Linked DNA regions of Homo sapiens: regions 1 and 2 are each linked to region 3. The links are contacts of gene promoters, found by promoter capture Hi-C in human tissues and cell types (Jung and others, 2019). All regions are on one chromosome and are shown on one strand. Each heading gives the region's core, a stretch centred on a gene start or on the middle of the fragment in contact. The rest is flanking DNA. Distances are from core to core; before and after follow the strand shown.

Region 1 (2,747 bases), core at 34-2,533, 480 kb after region 3:
CTGACGCGGGAGAATCGCTTGAACCCAGGTGGCGGAGGTTGCAGTGAGCTGAGACCGTGCTACTGCACTCCAGCCCTAGTGACGGAATATCTGAATAGAAAAGTGACTGGAAGGGAATTTACTTAAATACCATTAGTGTTTACACTTGGGTGTTAGGATTAAGGAAATATTCATTTTCTTCTTTAATTTCCTTTTTTTTTTTTGAGATGGAGTCTCACTCTGTCACCAGGCTGGAGTGGCAGTGGCATGATCTCACTGCAATCTCTGCCTCCCAGGTTCAAGCGATTCCCCTGCCTCAGCCTCCTGAGCAACTGGGACTACAGGCGCGAACCACCACGCCTGGCTAATTTTTTGTATTTTAGTAGAGACGAGGTTTCACCATGTTGGCCAGGATGGTCTCGATGTCCTGACCTCGTGGTCTGCCAGCCTCCTCCTCCCAAAGCGCTGGAATTACAAGCGTGAGCCACCATGCCCAGCCTCCTTTTTTTTTTTTTTTTTTTTAAAGGCTGAGTCTCACTCTGTCGCCCAGACTGGAGTTCATTGGCACTACCTCAGCTCACTGCAACCTCTGCCTCCCAGGCTCAAGTGATTCTCCTGCCTCAGCCTCCTGAGTAGCTGGGACTACAGGCGTGTGCCACTATGCCCAGCTAATGTTTGTATTATTAGTAGAGACAGGGTTTCATCCACATTGGCCAGGCTGGTCTCGAACTCCTGGACTCAAGTGATCCTCCCACCTCAGCCTCCCAAAGTGCTGGGATTACAAGTGTGAGACACCATGACCGGCCCAACATGTGCTATTTTTATAATGAGGGAAAAGCTATTTTTGAAACATTAATAGGCTGAGAGCGGTGGCTCATGCTTGTAATCCCAGCACTTTGGGAGGCCGAGGCTGGCGGATCACCTGAGGTCAGGAGTTCGAGAACAGCCTGGCCAACATGACGAAACCCCTTCTCTACCAAAAATACAAAAATTAGCTGGCGTGATGGCGGGTGGCTGTAACCCCAGCTACTTGAGAGGCTGAGGCAGGAGAATTGCTTGAACCTGGGGAGCGGAAGTTGCGGTGAGCCAAGATTGCGCCACTGCACTCCAGCCTAGGTGACAGCGAGACTCTGTCTCAAAAATAAATAAAAAAGGGGGAAAAAAAAAAACTTTAACAGCTTGGCATAAGACATTGAAATTGTCTCTTAACCTTAATTAATTTACCCATGACTCTATCTTGGTGGAGGATGTATATGTAGCATTGACACCTCTGGGACAGGCACGGTGGCTCACGCCTATAATCCCATCACTTTGGGAAGCTGAGGTGAGTGAATCGCTTGAGCCCAGGAGTTTGAGACCAGCCTGGGCAACTTGGTGAAGCCCCATCTCTACAAAAAAAGACCAAAAAAAAATTAGCCAGGCATGGTGGCACACATCTGTAGTCCCAGCTACTTAGGAGGCTGAGGTGGGAGGATAGCTTGAGGTTGGGAAGCAGAGGGTGCAATGAGCCAAGACTGTGCCACTGCACTCCAGCCTGGGCAACACAATGAGACCTTGTCTAAGAAATAAAAAAGAAAAAGAAAAGAAACCTCTGAACAGAATAAACAACACAAGAAACAACTAGAAATTTGTTTTAGTTATTGTGTCATATTCTTTGGCCAAAATGAGAAACAGTTTAATCATAACGAGAAACAGTGTAATCATAAGTCTGATTAAAGCTTTGCAATTGTTCCAGCACCTGTTCAATTTTGCTGATGAACACACATATGACATACTAAAATCCAGACAGGATTTAACAAGTGAGATATATCAAACACAGGCCCTGTTGTTGTCAAGGTTTCTAGGTGTGGTTGCAGCTCAAGTATAATAAGATCATTTACATCTGAGTCAGTCACCCACTCTCCTGTCTGTGTCTCTCCCTCCACATCAGACATGGGCATGAACATAATACTCTATATAGCACAGGTCTGAGTAAAACTGAGATTTCAGGAGAGTGATGACTCAGGAATATCAAATCTTTTCCTTTTATGAGAGAAAATTAAGACAGGAAAAAACTATTACAGAAATATGCATCAACAAAGATGAAAAAAATTTTTGAATACATTTATAAATTCCAAGACAAATGCAGCCTTTTCCCATTCTCTTTATGAGATTTTGAGATTTTCTTTTTTCTTTTTTTTCTTTTTTTTTTTTTTTTTGAGACGGAGTCTCACTCTGTCACCCAGGCTGGAGTGCAGTGGCCCAAATCTCGACTCACTGCAAGCTCTGCCTCCCGGGTTCACGCCATTCTCCTGCCTCAGCCTCCCAAGTAGTATTTTTAGTAGAGATGGGGTTTCACTGTGTTAGCCAGGATGGTCTCCATCCCTGACCTCGTGATCCGCCCACCTCAGCCTCCCAAAGTGCTGGGATTACAGGCGTGAGCCACCGCGCCCGGTCTCTTTTTTTTTTTGAGACAGAGTCTCTGTCACCTAGGCTGGAGTGCAGTGGCGCAATTTCGGCTCACTGCAACCTCCACCTCCCGGGTTCAAGCAATTCTCGTGCCTCAGCCTCCCCAACAGCTGGGACTACAGGCATACGCCATCACGTCTGGCTAATTTTTGTATTTTTAGTGTAGACTGGGTTTTGCCATGTTTGCCAGACTGGTCTCCAATTCCCGGCCTCAAGTGATCCACCCACCTCGGCCTCCCAAAGTGCTGGGATTACAGGCATGAGCCACTGCATCCAGCCTCTTTATGATATTTTCTAGTTTGTCTTAATAGTGTGTGTGT
Region 2 (3,012 bases), core at 228-2,727, 310 kb after region 3:
TCACTTAAATCATATAATCAATTTTCAAAGGGTAAATATTTGGGGAAGCTGGGTAAAGGGTGTAAGGAAAATCTTTGTACCATGTGGCAACTTTTTGTTTTGTTTTGTTTTGTTTTGTTTTTTGAGACAGAGTCTCGCTCAGTCGCCCAGGCTGGAGTGCAGTGGCACAATCTTGGCTCACTGCAAGCTCCGTCTCCCAGGTTCACGCCATTCTCCTGCCTCCCGGGTTCACGCCATTCTCCTGCCTCAGCCTCCCGACATGTGGCAACTTTTTTGTGTGAAATTATTTCAAAATGTAAAGTTTAAAAAATTTAAAAATAAAACAGAAAACTCAAAAAAGATAAAGTATTCCAATTGGTGAACAGTTTTAGTCTACAAAGTGTCTACTACAATTTTAAGTAAATATGCAATATTCCTCCCTAAGAAACTTCATGACAAATTATAGATATATCATGTTGGAGACAGCCTTTTAATACAGGCAGGGACTCAGAGTGTATTTATGTAAACTGTGCATTCTGGGATTTACATTATAAAATTAATAAAGGCATATTTTAAAAAGTGAATTTTGCAGTAGTTTAAAACAATAAAACTAATTCAGCAGCAGTTCCTGGATGTTCTTCTGTGTGCATTTCGTGAGTCTATGGGTCTGTGGGTCACAGAGAATGAAAGATACTGAAAGCAGTAACTCCAGGAAGCTAATTGCAGACACTGCTGTACCTGTAAATATGCCTTCTGATTTTCCAATAAAATTCTGTAAACGTCTTATGGCAAAAACTGCTAGTTATCAATTCCAGTATCCTATTCTTCTTCCTTAATAACAGAACCCCCAGTTTTTAGCTGGACACATGCCTGGAATAAAGACTATATTCTTTAGTGTGGGAGGATAATAAGTAAGAGGAAGTAATATGTGCAATTTCTAGAAAATATGTTAAAGGGAAGAGTATCCTTTCTTTACCTTTTCCTCCTACCTGCTGGCTGGGATGTAGAGGTTGGGGAGCCTAATGAGCCCTGGGGCAGTTGCTAATGATGGCTGTGGCCGATTATTTTATTTTCCCACAATCCTTCCTTTCTTTCTTGTCTTAGTTATGGCTGGATGGGATAAGTATACTTCATGGTCTCACTTGTTTAGGACAATGAAATGTTAGGACATGTGACACAAACAGAAGCTTTAAATATGCTCATGTGGCTTGGCTTGCTTTGTTGCTTCTGCCATCTGCCTTGAAAAAAATACGGCCCAGGTAGCTGCTGGTCCCATGATGAGGAGACACATGGAACAGCTCTGAACCCAACCTAAGCCTGGAGCCAAGTCAAGTCCAGTGGATCCCAGCCAAGCCAAGCAGATCCACATTCCATGAGTAAAAAGTAAATGCTTGCTACTTCAAGGCACTGAGTTTTAGGGTTATTTGTTCTGTAGCGTATCTATGACAAGAGGTGACAGACAAAACACCAGAGCAAAAAGATGGGAAGCTAGAAGAACATGATTGAGGAGTGACTATCCTAGCCTTTGGACTACCTAGCTCTGAACTTTTTTTACCTGACAAAAATATGCTTGTTTCTTGCCTGAGCTGCAATTTATGTTTTTCTGCAACCTGCAGCCAAGACTAGTCCTAACAAACACATTCTTTCTTTCTACAATAGCTCCAAAAGCATCTCAAGGATATGTTTGCCTCCGGGCTGCCTTAACACACCTTTTCCATCTTCCCTTTCTTTTTTGTTGAGACAGGGTCTGGTTCTGTCGCCCAGATTAGAGTGCAATGGCGCAATCTCGGTTTACTGCAACCTCCCAGGCTCAAGCCATCCTCTGTCAGCCTCTGAAGTAGCTGAGACTACAGGTGTGCACCACCGGGCCTGGCTAATTTTTTCCATTTTTTTTTGTAGAGACAGGATTTTACCATGTCGCCCAGGCTGTTTTCGAGCTCCTGGGCTCACACGACCCTCCCACCTTGGCCTCCCAAAGTCTTTGTAAACTAATTGTAGAGAAAGAATCACACTGAGAGAACCCAGCTTCTTGAAGTTGGAATTTTAGTGCCAGGTCTTGGAAGCCAGCATATTACCTGGTTGTTTTTGCCGGGGCTTTGGCAAGTTTGTCACACATGTATGGGGGCACATGAGGATGTTGCAAGGATGCAGTGATCCCTCCAGAAAGAGTTGTTTCGTCTGAGATATATGGATTCCTCCTAGTGGAGTTTTTGGCAATGTATTGGCTGGCACCAGAGCAAGACAATAAACCCCCACTTGATGAATGCTATCGATCGCCTAGAAAAATACAAACAAAAATACTCAGTGAGATCACTTCTATTACATTTGACATATTCCTGGTATAATCCATTATTTTACGCTACAATTTTTCTTACTCTACCCATTCTAGATCTAGAATCTGGCAGATCACTAAGATTCCATATATCTAGAGATTTAAAGATAATCATTAAGATAATACACATCTTTCAGCTGTGGCAGAGATTAAAAGAAGAGAGGTAAGATACAATCTAAATGGACAAAGGTGGATATTGACTTGCAACTCAGTATGTTCTCTTTTTAAGTTTTTATTCTTTTTAGAGACAGGGTCTCATTCTGTCAGCTGGGGTGGAATGCAATGGCACAAGCCATGACAGCCCCAAATTCCTAAGCTCAAGTGATCCTCCTGCCTCAACCTCCCAAGAAGCTGGGACTACAGGGATGCACCACTGCGTCTGGCTAATTTAAAATAATTTTTTTTCTTTTCTTTTTTTTAATTTTAAGGTTTTTGGAGAGATGGGGTCTCACTGTGCTGCCTAGGCTGGTCTTGAACTCATGGCCTCAAGTGATGCTCCCACCTTGGCCTCCCAAAGTGCTGAGATTACTGTCATACCATGCCCAGCCAATATGTTCTCTCTTAAGTGATAATGTCAAAAACCTAGAAATTTGTTTTGGTTCTTTTAATCTTTTAGCTATCAGCCAACAAAGCCTAATTAAACAGAAGTAAGGTATTTTTATTATGAACACAACAGCAGCTCTCTAAAGGAGCCCCCACTT
Region 3 (2,993 bases), core at 151-2,650:
AAAGAAGCTCAATTACCTTTAATGCTGTAAGCAGTGCGAGGGGTCGGGGAGTGAGGGTGGCGGGAGGATCTAATGTTTTTGGTGGCTGTAAACGACATTGCAGAAAATTACGGTAATTTGTTAGGCCATTTATTCCCTCTTCACCAGTTTGGCAGTCTCATCTTCAGAGCAAAAGATACGGTGTGAGGCTGAAACTGGCGATAGAGTGGGATTGCTTTTGGGTAGGTAGGATGAAGTCTGGGGAGAATCGAGTCAGCTGGGCGAGGAGGAAAACAATTCACTACGGAGGCTTGGGAGGACACCTAAGGCGGTCAAACTGGCTGCACTAGCTGATGTTTCTCGGTTCCTCCCAGGTGTGGGGTGCTCTTGGTGGGGCAGCAGATACTATGATGTGGCTCTGGGGGCGCGAGGAAATGTTCCTTCCAGGTGGCTATCCTTTTTTTTTGAGACAGGGTTTTGCTCTGCCACCCAGGCTGGAGTGCAGTGGCACGATCTTGTCTCACCGCAGCCTCCACCTCCCAGGCCCAAGTGATTCTCCCACCTCAGCCCCCGAGTAGCTGGGACCACAGGCGGGCGCCGTGATGCCTGGCTAATTTTTTTTTTTTTTTAGACGGAGTTTTCGCTCTTGTTTCCAAGGCTGGAGTGCAATGGCGCGATCTCGGCTCACTGCACCTCCGCCTCCCGGGTTCAAGCGATTCTCTTGCCTCAGCCTCCCGAGTAGCTGGGATTACAGGCATGCGCCACCACGCCCGGCTAATTTTGTATTTTTAGTAAAGACGGGGTTTCTCCATGTTGGTCAGGCTGGTCTCAAACTCCCGATCTCAGGTGATTCGCCCGCCTGGGCCCTCCAAAGTGCTGGGAGTACAGGCGTGAGCCACCGCGCCCGGCCTTTGCTTGGCTAATTTTAAAATTTTTTGTAGAGACCGGGTCTCACTATGTTGCCCAGGCTGGTATCGAACTCCTGGACTCAAGTGATCCTCCCGCCTCGGTCTCCCAAAGTGCTGGGCATTACAAGTGTGAGCCTCCGCGCCTGGCCTGGCTACCCTTTACAGGATAGAGCTATACCTCGTAGCTTGATTGTCAGTACCTAACGTGGCGCCACGGCGAACTAGGGCAGGAATCTTATCTGTCCCCAGACTGCTAGCGGACTGGAGCTCCCCAGTCCAGGGGCTGTGTGGGTCTGGCCAACGCAAGCAGCAACTAGGCAGCATGCAGCTCCCGCCGGGTGCCCCAGGGGCCGCCGCGTGCCCCAGGGGCCGCCGCATCCAGACTCCGCGTGGGCGGAGCCTAGGTCCCTGGTCTGCGGGCCACGCATCCCGGCCGCTGCAGGGACTCCAGCCAATAGGGATGTGCGGCTGCCGTCCTGTCGACCAATCGCGGGGAGGGGAGGGCGTTAGCCAGCGTGGCGCTGGCTCCCGGAATATGGAGCCCTGGGCGCGGGGGCGGCGTGTCAGGTGGTTGCGGAGCTGGTAAGGTGAGGGGAAGGCAAGGTCAGGGGTCACGGCATTCCGCTCGCTGGCAGGGAGGGGCGCGGGGCGGCTCGAGGGCCTGTGTCGGGGGTCAGGCTCCGGGGCTAGGATGCGACACCGGCTCGCCGTGCGGGGCTGTGAGGGGAGGTGTGGCCAGGGAGGGCCTCAGGCCCAGAGTCCAGGACTGATGGAGTCGCGCCATTCAGAGAAAGACCCAAAGATGGGGGCAGGGAGGGAACGCCGGAGGTCGCGGGGGTCTCGCCCCTTCCCCGCCGCGGCCTAGGACACATGGCCCAGCTCCCAGCTGCACCGGATGGCGCGCCCGGCCTGTGTCGGGGTGCGCTGACCTGCTTCGACGCCTCGAAAGAGGCCGACGGGCACAGGGCAAGGTCTTTCGTGGCCTCTTCGTCGGCGCCGCAGGGGGCCGGGCTGCTCTCCGGGGCCTCCCGCCGCCCCGCTTCAACAAAAGACTCATTATAACCTAACCGACTTCAGGGAGCGCCTTCTGTGTGAATAGCCTGCATACGCGGCTCAGTAATTGTGGGTAGATTGGTTTTAAGGCTGTTTGTGTAGCTCTCAGGGACCCTCTGGATTCCAGGCTCCAATGAGCAGGGTTTTTCTACAGGGGGATATTGCACATATGTAAGTGGGCTGGATGGCTCTCCCAGCTGTGCGTTTCATGTGTCCCCACTTTTAAAGCTACCGCTTAAATGTGACATCTCTTGCAAAAGCAAAAATTATATGGAAGGAGAGTTTGCAAGGGGAGATAGGCTTCTAAAAACTTGCTGGCCTCAATTTTAGTGACTGTTGGTGAAAAATGGAGAAGCTATGTTTACACTGACTTCTGGAACCCGAAGCCCCACCAGTTCGCATGATTTCTTGGCTTTGTAAATCTTTGAGCATGTTGTTTGCCTCTTTCTTCTTTTGTTCCACGTACTTAAAATGGGGATTGATAATATCAGTCTTACAGGGTTGTTGGTATGAAATTAGTTAATAAACAACAAAGTACTTAGAACTCTTGATGTGGAGGAGTTTTTGTTGTTGTTACCTTCTTTCCCCTTAACACTTCTAAAGAATTCTAACCTTATTACTTATTCTTTGCTCAGAGTCTCATGACTTATCACCAGTGAACCCGCCGGCCTATACTTTCCATTGACATCATTAACTTTGATCTGAGGGTATAGTGTAGTTATATGTGACTAGAGGATTTCTGCTGCGTGTTTGTTTTATTAAATACGGTTGGAAACTATCATTATACTAGGTCATTTATTGTGATACCTGTGTTGGGTAAATGAAACCTGAAACCTTCGGCTGTTTATTTTTTCATTGGACAGTATTTCATTGACAGTCTTGCTTGGCCTACTCAGTTTATTTTGGAGCCAGTACTAAAAAGGCCATGATTGCAGCATACTTGGTTTCTCATGTTTCCGGAATGGCAGTGGGACTCGGGAGGGGAATTTCTGGGTAGCCTGGCAGCACTTCTTGTTAAGGAATGGGGAAGCTTCTTATGAATCTAATCTTACT

What was found. Contacts are between HindIII fragments. The study calls those that stand out against the background at their distance.
Region 1: a contact is called between a fragment that was not itself captured here and the fragment with the promoter of SLC11A2 in region 3, in 1 of the 25 tissues and cell types used here (IMR-90 fibroblasts).
Region 2: a contact is called between a fragment that was not itself captured here and the fragment with the promoter of SLC11A2 in region 3, in 1 of the 25 tissues and cell types used here (hippocampus).

What each region holds. Positions count from the first base shown.
Region 1 is chr12:50,541,679-50,544,425 of GRCh38, reverse strand. The region is part of intron 1 of DIP2B (disco interacting protein 2 homolog B); the gene reads right to left. Among named protein-coding and RNA genes, the nearest start is that of DIP2B, 38 kb to the right of the region's middle. The HindIII fragment of the contact is 6,729 bases long and covers 1-2,747 here.
Region 2 is chr12:50,713,639-50,716,650 of GRCh38, reverse strand. It overlaps DIP2B (disco interacting protein 2 homolog B), which reads right to left. Exons shown (of 38, transcript NM_173602.3): 23 at 2,055-2,256. Among named protein-coding and RNA genes, the nearest start is that of ATF1, 49 kb to the left of the region's middle. The HindIII fragment of the contact is 3,863 bases long and covers 1-3,012 here.
Region 3 is chr12:51,024,791-51,027,783 of GRCh38, reverse strand. SLC11A2 (solute carrier family 11 member 2) reads left to right here and starts at 1,400. Exons shown (of 16, transcript NM_000617.3): 1 at 1,400-1,474. RefSeq lists silencers at 1,020-1,739, 1,750-1,809 and enhancers at 1,215-1,826, 1,827-2,440. The HindIII fragment of the contact is 17,071 bases long and covers 1-2,993 here.